Regions from separate parts of the Homo sapiens genome. Here region 2 is linked to region 1. The links are contacts of gene promoters, found by promoter capture Hi-C in blood cells and fetal thymus (Javierre and others, 2016). All regions are on one chromosome and are shown on one strand. The core of a region is centred on a gene start or on the middle of the fragment in contact, and the rest is flanking DNA. Distances in the headings are between cores, read along the strand shown.

What was found. The method cuts DNA at HindIII sites, captures the fragments that hold promoters and counts their contacts. A CHiCAGO score of 5 or more calls a contact.
Region 2: a contact is called between a fragment that was not itself captured here and the fragment with the promoter of SLIT1 in region 1, in 3 of 17 cell types (M1 macrophages, M0 macrophages and fetal thymus). The highest score is 6.3, in M1 macrophages.

Annotation. Positions count from the first base shown.
Region 1 is chr10:97,184,071-97,187,990 of GRCh38, forward strand. SLIT1 (slit guidance ligand 1) reads right to left here and starts at 1,889. Exons shown (of 37, transcript NM_003061.3): 1 at 1,408-1,889. The coding sequence starts at 1,604. The region is part of intron 11 of ARHGAP19-SLIT1 (ARHGAP19-SLIT1 readthrough (NMD candidate)); the gene reads right to left. RefSeq lists enhancers at 1,733-2,233, 2,234-2,734. The HindIII fragment of the contact is 4,998 bases long and covers 1-3,501 here.
Region 2 is chr10:97,088,645-97,092,564 of GRCh38, forward strand. All of the region lies in intron 4 of SLIT1 (slit guidance ligand 1), which reads right to left. Among named protein-coding and RNA genes, the nearest start is that of SLIT1-AS1, 12 kb to the right of the region's middle. RefSeq lists an enhancer at 2,060-2,677. The HindIII fragment of the contact is 4,491 bases long and covers 1-3,920 here.

The sequences.
Region 1 (3,920 bases), core at 639-3,138:
ATTGCATCTAGATTGCAAATTCTCTAAAACCTCCACGGGAATTTTTCAGATGCAGCCAAGAAGAGTCTGGGGCAAATGTGTGCTCACTAATTGCTGGCCTTGGTACAGAGTCTGATTCGGGAGACAGCTCTCCTCAGGGTCAGATTTCTGTCTCTGACCAGCTGGGGGCCATGAAAATGTGCTCGAAAGTTATCAAAATATGCACACCTTTCCTGAGAGCCACTGCAGTCACCGAGGAGTGTGGGAAGGAGGAGTAGGTAGGTTTCAAAGGAGCCAGCAGCCTTCTCCAAAGCCCTGTTCAAAAATCTCCTGGTGTAGTCACCTCTGCGAGCAGTACAAAGGCCCTGCATGTGACCAAAATCTACACACACACAGCCCATTACGGGGACTCTCATGGCCTCACGCTATTAAGGTGGCCCCTTAATACTAGGAATTCACACAGAAACACATTCTGCAGGAGAGTCACAGAAAACAAAGTATAAAGGTCTGTAAATACACACACTCAAACACACCCAAACACACACACACACATTCTACTAGCTTACTGGGTCTAGAAAAGAAAAGGATCAAGTTTCCTCAAGAATTCACAAGTGAGACAGAACAGGGGAAGAGAAATGCTATTTTTTTATTACTTGTCATGGTCAATATCTTTAACCTTGGGCCCCCCTCTCCAAGCTCCTGACTTCTTGGCATTATCCACCGGGTTCTCCATCCAAGACACACCTGCCCCTTTTCGGGTGCTGAATGTTACATACCCCAAGCCCCATACCCAAAGCCCTCAGGTCCCATTGTCTGCCTGTGTTGGGGATGGCTGGGTGTGGAGGGAGGCGGGTGAGTAGGGGACCAACGCGTGGCACCTGCAGGGGAAGAATTCTCAAGGCTCTGGGGCAAACAATGGAGAAGAAGGGGCAGACCAGAAACTTCGCCTCCATCCCACCCTGCTGCCCTTCGTCAGGAGCAAGCTCTGGGAGCGGGAATCTGCGCAGCTGGCTCAGAACGCGGCCGTAGCCCCATGTGCCCAAAAGGAGACATTGTGCTTGGCGAGTGTGGGAAGTGTCCCTCCTGGGTGCAAGGAAGGCTTTCTGACACCAGTTCGCAGGCACCCTGGAGGAATAAAGCGCTGGCGCAGTGAGGAGGGCCTGAGGGTGCGGAGTGCAGGGTGCAGGGTGCAGGTGTGAGGACGGAAGCTGACAACCCCGCCGAGGGCCCTTTGAATCCCAGGGATGGGGAAACCACGGCGCTCCTGGCTCCTGGCTCGGGAAAGACCCCGGCAGGCACTGACCCGTCTGTGGGCTGCGGAGCCCGGACGGGCCCCAATGGTCCTGCCCCCACCCCCAAGTCCGGAATTGCGTCTGGGTGGGAGGGCAACCTCGGAGCCAGGGAGCCAGGGGCGGGGACCATACTCACAGGCGCTCGGTGTTCCGAGGTATATTCTTGGGAATGGCCTGCAGCCCCGTGCCGTGGCAGTCCACCGTGGTTCCGGTGCAGGTGCAGAGGGCGGGGCACGCCGAGGCACCCAGGCGCCACGCGGCTGCCCACAGCAGCAGCCAGAGCTCCGGCCGGACCGGCCCCGCCGAGGACCCCCACCCGGGAGTCAGCGCCATGGTGCCCTCACAGCGTCCCGCTCGCGAGCCAGACGGCAGCAGCCGCTGACCATCCCCGTCCGGGGCCGCCTCCAGGTGCAGTCCCGGGGCAGAGCCACCGAAGAGCCCGCGGGCTTGCGCGCGGCGCCCCTGCGGGCTGGGAGGCACCTTGCTCCTCCAAGCGACGGCGCCTGTGCGCGGACGGAGGGAGGGCGCCTTGGGCGGAGGGGGCTCGGCTCCTCTGCCGTTTCGCCGCCTGCGTCTCCCTCTCCCTCCCTCCAGCTCCCAACTGACTGCTGCGAGGAGGAAAATGGGCAGGCCCCGCGCGCGCACGCACCCTGCGCACACACCACACACACACACACGATCACACACACACCCGCGCGCTCGCTCCCACCCGGCAGTCATCCATCAATCGAAAAGCACACATCCAGGGCCAGGCTCCTCCCCGCCCTCCCCCGCCGCAGCCCCCCTCTCCCGACGACCACTCAGCGGCTGCAAGCCGCCTACAGTTTCAAAGGTGGAACCTCCGAGGCGCCGTCAGCGGGCACGGGGCTGCGGGGGATGGGAGAAGAGGGAAGGGGGTGTGACTCGACCCGCCAAGTCCTGGCTGTACACACACACACACACACACACACACACACACACACACACACACGGCGAGGATGCGCACATTTAGACGCACGCACCCCGGCACCCGCGGCCCCAGCTGCTAGTCCAGGGTGGGAGGGAGATCTTATTTTGCCGCTTGGACGCCTTCCCGGGGAGTCAGACCCGTTTCCCCCCATCCCCCGACGGCAGCAGCGGCCTCTCGGCCCCACCCGACTCGCTGTGTCAATTCTTGGTTAAGGGAAACCCTGTGCCTGTGCCCCAGGTAGCATCCTCAAGCCACCAACCTTACTTAGCCTGGACTTTGAGGATGGAGCTTTGTCGGGGGGGAGGGTCCACGAAAGCGCTAGGCGGAGTACAGTCTCCTTCCTACCTCAATGCACCCACTTCTCAGAGGGGAACAAGCTAGCCGCATGCCCAGGATGAGAATGGCTCTGATTGGAACACTTGCTCAGCAGGGCGTATTTGTACCATACAGTTACACGGGCTTCTTCCCCCGTTGTAGAAGAGAGGGACAGACATTAAGGGGACTTGGAAATCTGGCAAACGTCTTCCTCCACTCACACCAGCGTTCCTCCATTTCTGACAGGTGGAAACAGATGAAAATGAATATTCCATCTTGACATCAAAGGAGACAGAGAGGGCTGGCATAGCGCTGGGCGGCCTGCTTGGGAGAGAACCCCACAGGCCAGCCCCGTCAGACCCAGGCCTCACACCCGGCTGGGTAGGGACCTTCGTCACCGTAAGGCATGTGTGGACGTGGGTGTGAACGGGACATCCAGGTGGGGAGAGAATTCTCCTCAACCCCAGAAAAGACGAAAGATCTCCTCAACGCCAAGGACAGCTGTGGCTCGCTGGGGCAGTGTCCAGCAGTCGGGGCCTTGACGTGAGGCTGCTTGGCAAGAGGACACAGCTGGGTAGCCCGAGAAGCACCTCCCGTCTCAGGAGCGGCCTGGGTCCAGACACAGCATGGACGCATTTGGTGGGGAGAGTGTCGGGCAGGGTGGGGATAGGGGAGGTTGATAGACTCCACAAGGTTGAAGCCTTATCACCCACCAGGTACCCAAGGCTCAGGCGTTTTCTTTGCTTTTCTTTTCCATGTTGATGAGAATTTTGCAGTCTCTCTACTGTCATAGCACAGTATGTTACAATTTAGGTGGCTGATTTTATGGGCTTTTGACAGTTCTTTTAAAGTTTTCACACATCCCTGTCCATGACCTCCATCCGGTAAGTGGGTTCTTGAGCATAAGTTCAGTTTCTCAGGGGGCAGGGCTTTCTCAGGGGTGCCTGTGTGGTGGGATATTAGGGAAGCTTCCCACAAACCAGGCCGGAGTCTGAGAGGGCTGCCCCTGCCCTGCAGCTCACCAGCTCCTGCTCCATGGGGCCCCAGCCCCTCTATCCATGCTCTCCCCGCAGCCTCAGAGTGACATTCCTCCATGCCCGCTGCTTTGTTTATCCCCTCTTAGTACCTGCAGCTGCTTCTCCACACCCCTGCCCACCCCCTGGCATCCTCACTCGCTCACCCAGACACACACCCCAGCACCTGGCACTTAGTAGGCCTGTCACAGACAGCACTCAGGCTGTTGAAGATGTCTCCAGCCTTCTGCTCCAGCAGTAGCTCCCTGGTCCCAGGACCTCGGAGGGCCCCTTGGAAGCCAAGACCCATGTGGAGAAGGGAGAGAGTGTTGATTAGCCAGGCGACATGCCCCTAGGTCCTCAGAGTGACAG
Region 2 (3,920 bases), core at 522-3,021, 96 kb before region 1:
AAAGACACCTATGTGTCATCTGTGTGGATGTGCCCAAATCTCTGCATCCTGCTAACATTTTTGGTAGGAAAGAAAACAAAAGAAAGGGGAGTGAGTGAGGGGAGCACCTTCAGAAGCCAGGAACCAGGGCTGTGGGTGACAGGATCGCAGGGGCCCACGTCCATAAAGGAATGAAGCACTGTGTCTGCCACACCTTTTGGTGACTTGGTGTCAGCATCCCCACCCAAAACCCTCCCCTCATCCTCATGAGCTGTCATGGGGAGGATCTAGAGACCAAGGGAAGAAAGAGGCTGGATCACACTTGTTTATCAGATGAGCAGTGGCCAAACAGAAGCCAGAAGCCCCGGCCACTTGCCCAGCCTGCAGGTGCACTCCTGGGCAGCACCCTGCAAGGAGAAACTGCAGGAAAGCAATGGCTGAAGCCCTGCAGGAGCAGCAGCCAGCTCCCAGGTGCCAGTGCCACCACAGTGCAGCATCTGGGGGAAAGGCAAGGGAATCTGAGACAGAGAGAGAAAGGGAGGCAGTCCAGAGCCAGGAGACCAATGAAGAGAAAAGTGCAAAAACAGAATACAAAAGAAACAGAAGTGAAAGAAGAAAAAAAAGACAGAGTCAGACAGGAAGACACAGGGAGAGGCCAAGCCCCCCACGACTGGGGGTGAGGCTCTGAGCTGGGAAGCCTTGGGACTTCGCTTTTTGCAGCAGTGAGGGGTGGCAGTGAGTCCCTGTCGCACCTGACAGCCAGCTAAGGTGCAAATGAAAAGAACGCAGCGTGGGGCTGCTGGGGCCCTCGGCTCCAGGGCTCTGCTACTCCGTCTCTCTGGGCTGACTGCGCAGAGAGATAATTTGCCCATGGCTGGAGGTGTCAGACTCTGAAGATGAGTGTGAAGCCTGCAGGTGACCTGCCCACGGGGATGTGTCCTGTGTGACTAATCCCAGGCAGAGGTGGGAATGGAATTCTGGCCGCTGCAGCCCTATCTGAATCAGATCCCTGTGAGGCGGTGGAAGGTGTCCTGTCCTTACTCATGGCTGGGGGAGGGAGGCTTCAGCTGGGGGAGTAGGCTGAGGGATCAAGGCCAGCAGGGACGGCCTGTCATCGTGGAGGGGTGGGGTTCACCGGGGAGGATGGCTCATGTTCTGTCTCGTACATCACAAATCCAACAAGCATTTCACATGTCAGTTAAGGGCAGAAACTCTGGAGCCAGATTGTCTGGGCTGAATCCTGGCTCTGCTTCTCACTAGCTGGGTGACTCTGAGCTTGTCCCCTAACATCTCCGTGCCTCTCTTTCTTCTTGTATAAAATGGGAATAACAAATAGTAACAGTATCTAGCTGTGGTGGGGATTCAATAAGTAAGCATGTGAAGCATTCAGCTCAGTCCCTGCTGGCACATGTGTCTGTCACCAGCATCCTCGCCGCTGCTGTTCATCCAGGCCCTCTCCATTCTCAGGGCCGGACCACGGGCTTAGGCAGAGCAGCAACCAAGGCAAGGGAGCTCCATGCTTCCATCCCAGTGGGGGAGCCAAAAACCACCCACATGATTTCAGAGATGGAGGAGTGCCGTGAAGGAAACAGAACAGGAGCAGGATGGAGAGGGAGTGGGAAGCAGGGGCCCCTGCAGCCCGCGTGGTTGGTGGGCTTCCCTGTCTGTCAAGGGAGAAACGAAGTGACAAGAAGCAAGCAGCCAAGCAGAGTCCTGGGAAGAGCGTCCCAGGCAGAGGAACCAGCAGGCACAAAGGCCGTGAGGTGGGCAAGAGCTGGAAGTGTCAGGGAATAGAAAGAAGGTGGTGGCTAGAGCCATAGGCAGGGACTGGGTCACGGAGAGCCTCGGAGGCATGGCTGGGATGTGAGTTGGACTCAAAGTGAGTTGGAGTGTATTAGCAGGAGAGCAGCAGGGTCTGGCTGATATTTTATAAGGAGAACTGGTTTCTGGGAGGCAACTGGATTATAGGGTGTTGGGGGGGGCAGTGAAAGCAAGAAGCAACCCTCTTAACAGCCTTAAGAGGTAAAATTTTTAAGATGAGGACACTGAGCGCTGCCACAGGGTGGAAAAGGGCGGAAGAGGGTGCCACCAACAGCTCCCTTCACTGAGTGCTTGCACCACACCAGGCTCTGCACCTTGGCGCTTTCACAGAAGAGGTGAAATTGCAAGCCCCAAGTCGTCCAGCGGGTGCTGGGCCCTGGCAGGCCCTGGCTGCTGCCTCCTAAGCCCACGCTCCATCCATGAAAGTGGCCCTCTGCTAGTGCTGAAGGGGGTGGCAAGCAAGCCCCTGGGGCAGCCCCGGTTCTCAGTATGGCGGCAGAGCACATCTGCCCCTGCCTCACTGCCCCAGGAGGGGTTTGTTCAATGTCACAGGCAGTGCTGGAGGAAAAACTACTTTGTGATACACTTGAGATCATTCGTTGACATCAGCTGAGAAGATAGCTACTCTGTTCACTCCGGTTTGATATCATTCTATCACCTATCCCCATACTGAGAATTTGCCTCTTGCAAAAGGCAAGTGCTATGGATTCAAAGCACAGATTTGATTTTTTCCATTTCACATGAACTTTGCAGCTGCATCTGAAAACCAATTAGTGTGGATGTGCTCAGACACGCTCCATGCACCACTCCTGCCATCTTCTCCCCTGGAGAGGGGCTTCTCCTCATGTCTTTCCGTGAAGTGAGCCAGGTTCCTTAGGGGACTCACCTTTGTCTCACTATCCACTACTGATTAGGGTCTGTCCTCTGTGCAGTTACACACGAACTTGTAGATTTTTGTGTGGTAGAGTTGCAAATCATTACTGTCTGGTAGAAAAAATAACCTCAAGGTTTAGTTTATTAACCATGTCCAACATTAACCAATTTTGTATTGAACTTTGTAGTTTTATTTCAGTGTTCCCTGTCTTTCACTGATGATAAGCTCTCAGCCCCCCAAATTCTCCTTGAAACAACTTTACCATCCTGCTGGTCCCTTCATTCATGAATTAAATGTAAACTTTTGGCACATACCGCTTTATATTTGTATGACAGTCACACTTCTAGCTCGTTTACAGTCATACTTTGAACATGTTTTTATCTTCCTTTTGCAAATGAGAACACCGAGGCTGAGAGAAGTCAGGTTGCTGGCTGAAGTGCACAGAGCTCGTAGGAGCACAAACAGGGCTTGGACCCCCCTCTGTCCAATGCCAAGCCCATAGGCTAAGTGCCCTTGCAGTTCCCAAGTTGAAAAGAGCCTTAGAAATGATCTAAACAAGCTCCAGTCTTTTACAGGCCAGAACTAACTCTGAGGCCAGGAGTGGCGAGAAGTCTTGCTCACAATTCACACACTAGTAAAGGACAAAGGGCAACCTTGGCAGAAAGGAAGGTTTTCGGCTAACCATTGCCTCATCTTCTTACATTTATCTCAAGTTTTTGCTCGAACCAGGCCACCCACAAGGAGCAAGAAAGACTAGCACGCAGTGACATTTGTGAAGGCTTGCTGTCAAGGCAGCTCTGGCACAGGTCACTGCTGAGATTGTCAAGCAGGGTTCTGAGCTGGGGCCCCTGGAGGCTCTGAGGCCTCAAGAGTGGGCTGCCCAAGGTCTATGCAGCCCCTAAAACCATGTGCAAATTGTGCATATGTGCATGGTGCATCCGATTCCCAAAAATGTCACATATCCTGCTTTGAGAGACTGTCTCTAGAAGGCTCCAGTTAGAAGCAAATGAATTAACTGGGAAGAGACATGCACTCATCTCCAAGCACTTGCATAGGTTAGCCTGCTAAAGTGGGCCCAAGGATTTGTGAATATGAGAACAATGTGATTCAAAAGTCAGCCTTTGGGGTATCTCATAGGTCAAGCACCTGAAAGCCTCAGAAGCCATAAGAACATGTGTGAGAGGCTAAGGCCCAGAGACCTATATACCTACATGAATGCTATTTCTGGTGGCAAAAGAGCAGCCAA